2 separate regions of the Homo sapiens genome follow, and region 2 is linked to region 1. Evidence: promoter capture Hi-C in human tissues and cell types (Jung and others, 2019). All regions are on one chromosome and are shown on one strand. Each heading gives the region's core, a stretch centred on a gene start or on the middle of the fragment in contact. The rest is flanking DNA. Distances are from core to core; before and after follow the strand shown. Region 1 holds the start of DOCK8 (dedicator of cytokinesis 8). Region 2 holds the start of KANK1-AS1 (KANK1 antisense RNA 1).

Region 1 (3,615 bases), core at 1-2,500:
GGAAATAAAATCGTCAATAAAGCTCGATATGCCCTCTAGAAGACCTTATCGCCTTGTTTTTCTAGGCTTTTAATTCCTTGTTCAAACCTCTTCACACACTAACAGCACAAAGATGAACCTACGGTGGAATCCACCTTTCACAGGCTCAGCTAAGTGAAGATTAACAAATCGGACAGCCCTGTGGGCAATAGAATAAGTTGACACTTTAGAATGAGTTTCCTATTATCTTTTAACTAGACAGTCTAGCTTTCTCAGGGCAAGACAAAAATGTCCCAATTACTTGTCAGCAGTTTTTAGTGGAGGAAAAACTGCAGTTAAAGCACCTTTACTGAGAACTTTGAGCAGTAAATGTGCTTACATATTTAGTTTGTGCAACTTTGATTAGGAATTGGATGGTGAGTTGGGATCCCCCAGTCCTTAGCTTTTTGCTGGAGTTCTGTAAATCTCAAAATGTCAGCCACAGGCCATTTCTTTTGGTTTATTTAAGTGTAGATTTTTTAAAAAATCACTTTTTCCACTTCATGGCTCCTTTGGACCAGGGTATAAAAATAGCGATGCCACCAGGAGCCAAGCTCTTTCTGGAATAATGAAGCAGGCGAGGACGGAGCCTTGCTCAGGACGACAGAAGGCTTGCAGCCTGCCTCAAACGCAACTCTAATTTCAGCCACTTCACTTCTTCCCCCCGCGCTCAGACTTGCCTCAAAGGAAGGAGCCGTTTATGAGACACTCCGTGGCGCGCCCAACACGGTTACCCAGGCGCCTATCACCCTTCTGGGACCCGGCCACCTGTAAGAACCTGGAGGGCGGAGCGGGCGAGGTTGTTCGGGGAAGGGATCCCCGGCGGCTGAGGACATCCAGGAGCACCGAGATTCTTGGGGAGGACCTCGCCGGGCCCAGCGCAGGAGCCGCCGCGCGTCCAGCGGCTCCACCGCCGCAGCCTCGGGAACCGGGCGCCCCAGGTCTCAGGCGCGCCCCGCCGCGGACGCGAATGGACTCGTCCGGCCTCGGCCCCTGCAGCGAAGCTCCGCTTCACACCAGCGCTGGGCTGTCCGGCCGCAACCTGCGCGCCGCGGGGGGCGTCTTACCTGTTGATCTTGAGCGCGAACGCGCGGCGCTCTGCGCTCGGCAGAGTGGCCATGGCCCGCCGGCGGTTCGGTGGCTTCTAGGGTCGCGGGGTGCGGAAAGCGGGGGCCTGGCGCGCCGCAGAGTAGCCGCGGAACATGCCCAGCCAAGCGCAAACCTCGTCTGTCGGTCGGCGCTGGAAACTTCCGCATTTCCACCTTCTAAGCCGAAATCACCCCGGGGGAGGGTCCGAGCTCGGAGCAGCGACGGCCGGCTCCGCCACCCGGCCTGGCGCGCAGGCAGCGGCGGGCGAGGAGGGCGTGGGCCCAGCGCGGAACTGGCCTCCCGATACTGGGGCAGACGGCGCGCTCTGCCCGGGGCCGCCGACCTCCGGCCGAAGGGAGCGCGGGCGGACGACAGGCGACCACTGCGCGCAGGCCGGAAGCTCCATCTGCCCGAAGCTGCGAGGCTGCCAGGGAATGTAGGCAAGTCGGGGGAGCCCCACAAAGCTGGCGAGGTCGGGAATCACCCCAGGGATTCGTAAGGCTAGGTGTTATTAAGGGTTGACACCATTCTCGAAGAAGGCAGCCAAAAAAAAAGACAAAAAAGTTAGTGGAATCTATCAGGATTCAAATCAACTTTTGCAAGCAATATGCCCATCATCCTTCCTGAGACACTAAATAAATATAATGGATTCATCCAAGGAATAAACATTATGAGTTCTCAAAAAATGTTTTCGTCACAACCTGGCGTGAATGCTTTTCTCCGGAGAAACACTGAAGGCGGCGTTCTTGCGATTCAAGGGTACGCTGCGTCCAGGTTTATTTCAGTTTCAGACTGAGGTCTGCTAAGAAGCCCGGCCTCAAACTCAAGATAAAAACAGAAAAGTCCCAGTGTTGACGGGAGTGGAGGAGCCCGTGTTCGCTTCAAGGTGCCGGCGTGCTGCTCTAACCTGTGCTATATATACTCGAGCACTCTCCATATAATGCCTCCATTTACCAACTTGCTCTTAAAAAATACCAAAGCAGGCCGGGCGCGGTGGCTCACGCCTGTGATCCCAGCACTTTGGGAGGCCGAGGCGGGCGCATCACGAGGTCAGGAGATCGAGACCATCCTGGCCAACGTGGTGAAACCCCGTCTCTACTAAAATACAAAAAATTAGCCGGGCGTGGTGGCGCACGCCTTAGTCCCAGCTACTTGGGAGGCTGAGGCAGGGGAATCACTTGAACCCGGGAGGCGGAGCTTGCAGTGAACCGAGATCTGCCACTGCACTCCAGCCTGGCGACAGAGCAAGTCTCCGTCTAAAAGAAAAAAAAAAAAACAACCAAAGCGAAGTATTTTTGGTTCAAACCTGCACTATTTAATATGATAGCCACTAGCCACATGTGGCTATTGACCACTCGGCATTATGGTTAGTCTGAATTGCCCACTGCTGGATGTGTAAAATGTACACTGGAATTTAAAGACAGCGCAGAAAACATCGTGTAAAATGTCTTGTTAATGATTTTCATGTTGATTGCATGTTAAATGATACTTTGGATATAAAAAATATATTATTAAAGTTAATTTCACCTGTTTGTTTTCCCCTTTTAAAAATGTGGTTTGCATTTTTAAAAATGTAAAATTACACATGTGGCTCACATTTGTGAGCCTCATTATATTCCTATTGGACAGTGCCAGTCCAATACAACCTAATTTGTCACCTAATACTAAAATCCACCTAAGGACTATATTCAGTCTCTTCCTGATACAGCCTTCCTTCCTGGTTTCAGCTGTGTCAGGTAGTTTAGTAACTTTTCAGTACTGGTTAGGTAACTCCCCGCCCCCCAATGCCCACCAAATATCAGTGCCCTTTTAAGCATATAAGACAAAGTTCACTGCATAGACTACAATAGACTACATACGAAAACAAACCCAAAGAAAAATAAAGCTTTTTTGAAATTTAGAGTTTCTGACTTTCAAAACTGTCCTTATTTACTACATTGGAATTTATGAGCAAACATTTGGATAGCAAAATACAAAGAGAACAAATGTGTAAGTACTTCTTCAAACTGAGACTCAACGAATGATACATAGAAAACATTTTGCCCCAGAGGCTTCGGTCCACGGTGTACCATGTCAGCCTTTCGGATGAACTCCTCTGAATTTCTGAATGTTTATGACATACATTTTCATATAGAACAAAAATATACTGGTTTCACACAAACATAAATAAAATGTAATGAAAGCATCTCAGATTTTCAGCATTTGCAATCAAGGAAACTTTTTGGGTGAATGTGGGAATCATAAAACCTTCCATCTTGCCTCAGATCATACTGCAATAGATTTAGTATTTGGTACCTAACCATGAAGGTTAGGCCAGCATTATTATCCTCTGTGCTGTCAATTTCTTGATGGTTAGAATTGTCTCCAGATTTCCTTAACACTCTTTTAACAATTCACCATGAATGTGTTATCCATTAATTTAGTCAAATGCCTGTTTTCAAGTTTGATCTGCTGTTAGATACATTCACATATTGCTGGCAAATAGCCATCCAAGTGCCTTTCTTCCTT
Region 2 (5,003 bases), core at 47-2,546, 470 kb before region 1:
GGCTGATTCACCACTTGAAGAGGTGGGGCACCGGTTGGGGTACATGCTGCATAAGCTCAGCAGGTACTTCTGCCTCCTCTGCCAGGTCACAAGAAGACAAACCAGTCTTTGTCCTCACAGCTGAGGGGGAACATGCCAAACGGGTTGCCCCAAAAAACATATTCGTGGTGCGTCCCTGAGTTGAATAAAGCATCCCAGTCAATCCACCTAAAAATGCTGAGGGAAAAATAAATAAATCGGCTGCACCGTGTTGGGTAGACAGACTTACATGAGGGGGATACTGAGAACAGAGGAAGAGAGAACTTTTTTCTGGTTTTAGTTAGAAAAAAGTAAGAGCTGATGCACATGAGTAGGGTTTTTAAGATATTAAGCACTGGGCATATAAGTTACTGGAAATACCCCATCTCTCTCTTTGATGTTTTCAGTTTGGAATATTCTTCCCCCTTTCTTCCTGGAGAGTCTTAAATGTACCTGCTGTACAGAAACACTTCAAACGCCTTGGCCTAATGGACAGTGGATGCAAATGGAAAAGGCACTCAGTAAACTGGGCAGGGATGGGAAAATTGGGCAGGACAAGCTGAATCAATGTTTTCACAAAATTATTTGCAAAGCTGATGGATGGGATTTATCAACTAAACCAAATATTGTGAGACTAAATTCAGAAAGCCACACAGCTATCTTTTGATTCTGCCTAACAGAGATCATGTCCAAAGTAGAAAAGATCCCTGAGAGAAAACTTTTCCAATGGAATAAAATCATGAAAAAGGAACTAAAATAAACTCAGTACTAGTAACTATTAGTAGCAAACTGTTCCCATAAATGGTTACTCTAGTACTACCTCCTTTAAGTAAAGGTTTGTATGGTGAAATTCCAATTCCACAACCTCTGATCCAGTTGGGAGGGAAATCAGGGATCAGGCAAATCTGGCCATAAACAAGGTAAGAGTACAAAGATTTAACTTTCAGGATACGAACAAATCCTACAAATCCAACAATTTGTCCCTTAGCACAGCTCTCCCTTATGTCTATAGTTCTGTTTTTCTATCTGTTGATTAGAGTGGCCTTCTCTCATTTTTATAGAATATTGTTTAATCTGAGTTTCAGCCATGGCTTGCTTTAACTAGGGTAAGAAATCTGGTCACTATATATATTTTTAAATCTCAAAATAGCAGCGTACTTATTTTTAAGTGGTGAGATAACTCATCGTATAGAACTACCAGCTGAGATGACTAATGCTATATGTACAAATGGGCCGCATTTCAAAAACCTGTGTTTTCCGGATTCATAATGAACTGCAGCTCAAAAGCAGAACCAGGCTTAGCCTGTAAAACATGAGCATACTTTTCCTAAAGCATGTGGAAATGAGTAACTCAGTTAAGGCTCACTCCAAAAATATCCAACAGAGAAGCCAAGGAAGGAAAAAGAAAAGAGTCTGCTTTTGGTTTTTGAACTTAGAATTTCTACAACTGTTTGAATGAATCTTATAAAATCTGATTTCCTGGATGGGTCTCCTTAAAGGTTTTATTAGAGAAGTCTACCCAATGCAATTAATTTTTTTTTTTGGTCAGGAAAGAGCAAGAACTTATCGTTTCTGTGAATTTGAGAATTATGATAATATTTTTCATGCCAGATCAAATCAAACCACCTTTTATAGAAAAGGAGCCAAAGCGGTGACTGTGAGCTTTAGTCACGATCATTTTCCTCTAAGCCCATACAAACCTTTCTCAGAAACTGCACAAAGGAGATGAACTGAAATTATCCCAGACACAGGAAGAAGGCAAACCCTGGAAAAGGAAGCAAATGAGCTATACCTTTGATGGGCTCAGCTAGCCCACCCAACTCATTCAAGAAAGAGGGGAAGTGCATAATCAGAAATAAATGCCAATACTCACAACGAGAAGTCTGCTGAGGAAGAGCAGAGCACAGAGTTTTCAAATCCTTGTAGGAAGGGCTGTTTTAACCCTTTGACTGGCTACCCAGTCTCTTAGAATAATAGCAACAGCTCGAGTTCTTAACACAGCGAATCTCCCTGTTGGGTGTTTATTTTGTATGTGTTTTTTTCTTTCTTTCTTGTTGGCACCTATAAAGTTGGTACCAGGCAAAAATCCCCAACCAAAGGGTTTCTTTGCCCAGTACCCAGGAGCAGGAGCACAGATTTTTCTCCTTCCTACACTCAAATAGGCTGGTACTCACTGGAAGATAAATCATCCTTTCTTGGCTTAGCTGGAGAGCTAATCGCCTGTCTGAAATCTGATGCTTAAGCCATTATGACTGGCTCAAGGCTTGGGGCAAGAAAGCTTATAAGGCGAAGCTGGCTACAGGTTAAAACAAAGCCTTAAGAGTTTATGAAACAAGCAAGCTCTGATGAGCCAGGGGCTTTTCAAAACCTCTCCGGGGGCTGGGTGAATTCTGAGGTTCTGATTAACCACACAGGCAAGACTTCAAAACCCAGGGTGTCCCCCATTTGTAGGTGGTCCCAACATTTTAAGGGTTATGAAATTGAAATCTAAGAAGTAGTTACATTATCTTCTCAAACACCACCACTATAAGAAAATTATTTCATCTATAAATTTCAGCGTGAAATTAGCCTTCAAAAGACTAACAGCTACAGTTTCATTGAAAGTTGAAATGCATAATCTAATTAAATGCAATTATTAAACACACTAATACTAGGATGAAGCTGTATGATGCAATAAATAAAGGAATAACAATATGTTTATTAATTTGAAATAATCCATACTAAGAAAAAAAGTAACTTACCAACATAATCCCTATCAGGGAGGACGTTTTATTTTTAAACACTGTACTTTAGGGTTTTATGCAGTTTTCTGAACTACATCCTTTTCACTTGATCTGTTTAATCAGAACTTCACAGATATCACACTTCTGATTTTAAATGTCAACATAATAAATAACCTTGAACAAAGGAAAAATGTTCTCCATGTCCAACTTCTGGCTTAGTCATTAGCTGTGTGAGCTCAGCAACTTGTGTTTTGTCATCTGAGAGTATGGAAGGAAGGCTGGACAACTGAAATGGAAACACACCCTTTTAGTTCTTACCTACGTGCTTATGGCAGGCTCCTACCTATGTGTTTATGTCAGGCTCCTACCTATGTGTTTATGTTTTACCCTCTCAGCTATTCTAATAGCCTCCAACACACTACTTATGGGAGAATACAAAGCACAAATAAGAACACACATTTTAATCCTTCTGCAAATTCATTCAACCAGGAGACCCTGAAAAGTCACGGAGGGTACCCATGAATTAAAGCAGCCATAGTTTCTAATCAGCAAACTCTCTGCCTTCGGGGTAATGCTAACACAGATGACAGGTCTAAGACTCACCACCACGGGCGCACACTGCCTCTGCTGTGCTGTGTGTTTCCTTACAGATGATCTCAGAAAACACCAGGTGGGTTCTAGCCAGACCAGTCACTGCAAACTAGTCTTATACTTGACAAATAGCACGTAATTCCTGCTATCAGGTTCACCGCAGTGGGCTCAGAGTTCTGTTTGAGAAACGCTCCTGCCCAGAAAAATATTTACACAAGCGAGAGTGGGGTGCACCGCACTGCAGCATTCTGCCTACCCTGCCATGAGCCTGGCTCTGTCTGGCTGACCCGGTCTTATCAGTGGCCTTTGTACTCATTTAAGATCAGCATAGAGACAAAAGCTGGAGCCAAATAACTGACCAAGATAACGAGATTCAAGCCCCACAACAGTTACTAAAGCCATGAAAACATTGTGCCCTTTAACCCAGTCATCCTGCTTCTTTGAAATTGTTGGGAAATAATAAAAAAGGAGGAGAAAAATGACCAGGGAAGATGTTCTCTGCAACATCATCTACCATAGGGAAAATGTGGAAGCAGTCCAAACATCCAAACAAAAAAAGAATACTTCAACTGGTAGAAACACCATAAGGAATATTATACAGTCATTGAAAATAATAATTTGAAAACTATTTTCCATGAAGACTTGGAAAAATGCAAAGAATGTTAAAGTCAAGAGCTGATATCCAAATTATAAAAGCTTATTGAAACTGTGTTTAAGTTTGTTAGCCTGAAAAGCATGAAAAATAAATACTAAAAATAAGACCTAGTGTGGAATTTTGAGTAATTCTTCTCTTCTGGTTTCCTGTCAAATTTTATGTTATCATTAATTTAAATAACTTTTCTTTTTTTTTTTTTGAGACGGAGTCTCACTTTGTCATGGAGGCTGGAGTGCAGTAGCACTGTGTCGGGACACTGCAACCTTCGTCTCCCGGGTTCAAGCAATTCTCCTGCCTCAGCCTCCCGAGTAGCTGGAATTACAGGCGCCCACCACCACACCCAGCTAGTTTTTATATTTTTAGTAGAGACGGGTTTTCACCATGTTGGCCAGGCTGGTCTCGAGCTCCTGACCTCAGGTGATCCACCTGCATCGGCCTCCCAAAGTGCTGGAATTACAGGCGTAAGCCACCGTGCCCAGCCTAAATAACATTTTAATGCAATTCAATAAGCATCTTTAATAAATAAATATGTATCTGTCTGAAAAAATATATATCCAGGCTGCAAAAAAAGAAAGAGCATGAGGGAAAAGCTATAATCAATTGGGGAAGGCAACTAGTAGCAAAAATAAAGATGATAAGAGCAGGCATAAAAAGTCACCTCCCAGTGCTCATCCATTTATGTCATTTAACTGGGTTTAATGAGGATGTTAATACAACTCTGGCCCCAATATCATGGCGTCCAGCAGGGCCTGACATGAGGGTACCTGGGATGTTTCCTGATCAGCGGCTCATGACAAGGACAAGAGAACAAGGGGAATGGTGCTATCCCCTGACATATGACCAGCACTTTGTGTTTTAAAAAGTGTTTTTACAGCTATTCTTTTTTTCCCTGCACAACCACCTTGTGAAGAAGGTAGGATAGCTATTATTATCTTTCTTTCACAAATAAGCCACTTGTTATTTGGCTTCTAAAGCATATCTAAGCTCTAATTAAAGTTTCACAACATTAGTGTTTA

Evidence for each region. Contacts are between HindIII fragments. The study calls those that stand out against the background at their distance.
Region 2: a contact is called between a fragment that was not itself captured here and the fragment with the promoter of DOCK8 in region 1, in 1 of the 25 tissues and cell types used here (mesendoderm cells).

What each region holds. Positions count from the first base shown.
Region 1 is chr9:212,500-216,114 of GRCh38, reverse strand. DOCK8 (dedicator of cytokinesis 8) reads right to left here and starts at 1,250. Exons shown (of 48, transcript NM_203447.4): 1 at 1,086-1,250. The coding sequence starts at 1,138. It overlaps DOCK8-AS1 (DOCK8 antisense RNA 1), which reads left to right and starts at 365. Exons shown (of 1, transcript NR_160804.1): 1 at 365-2,658. RefSeq lists silencers at 776-915, 1,086-1,135, 1,186-1,235, 1,246-1,495. The HindIII fragment of the contact is 11,669 bases long and covers 1-3,615 here.
Region 2 is chr9:681,463-686,465 of GRCh38, reverse strand. The region is part of intron 2 of KANK1 (KN motif and ankyrin repeat domains 1); the gene reads right to left. KANK1-AS1 (KANK1 antisense RNA 1) reads left to right here and starts at 911. Exons shown (of 3, transcript NR_198989.1): 1 at 911-938. The HindIII fragment of the contact is 3,732 bases long and covers 1-3,162 here.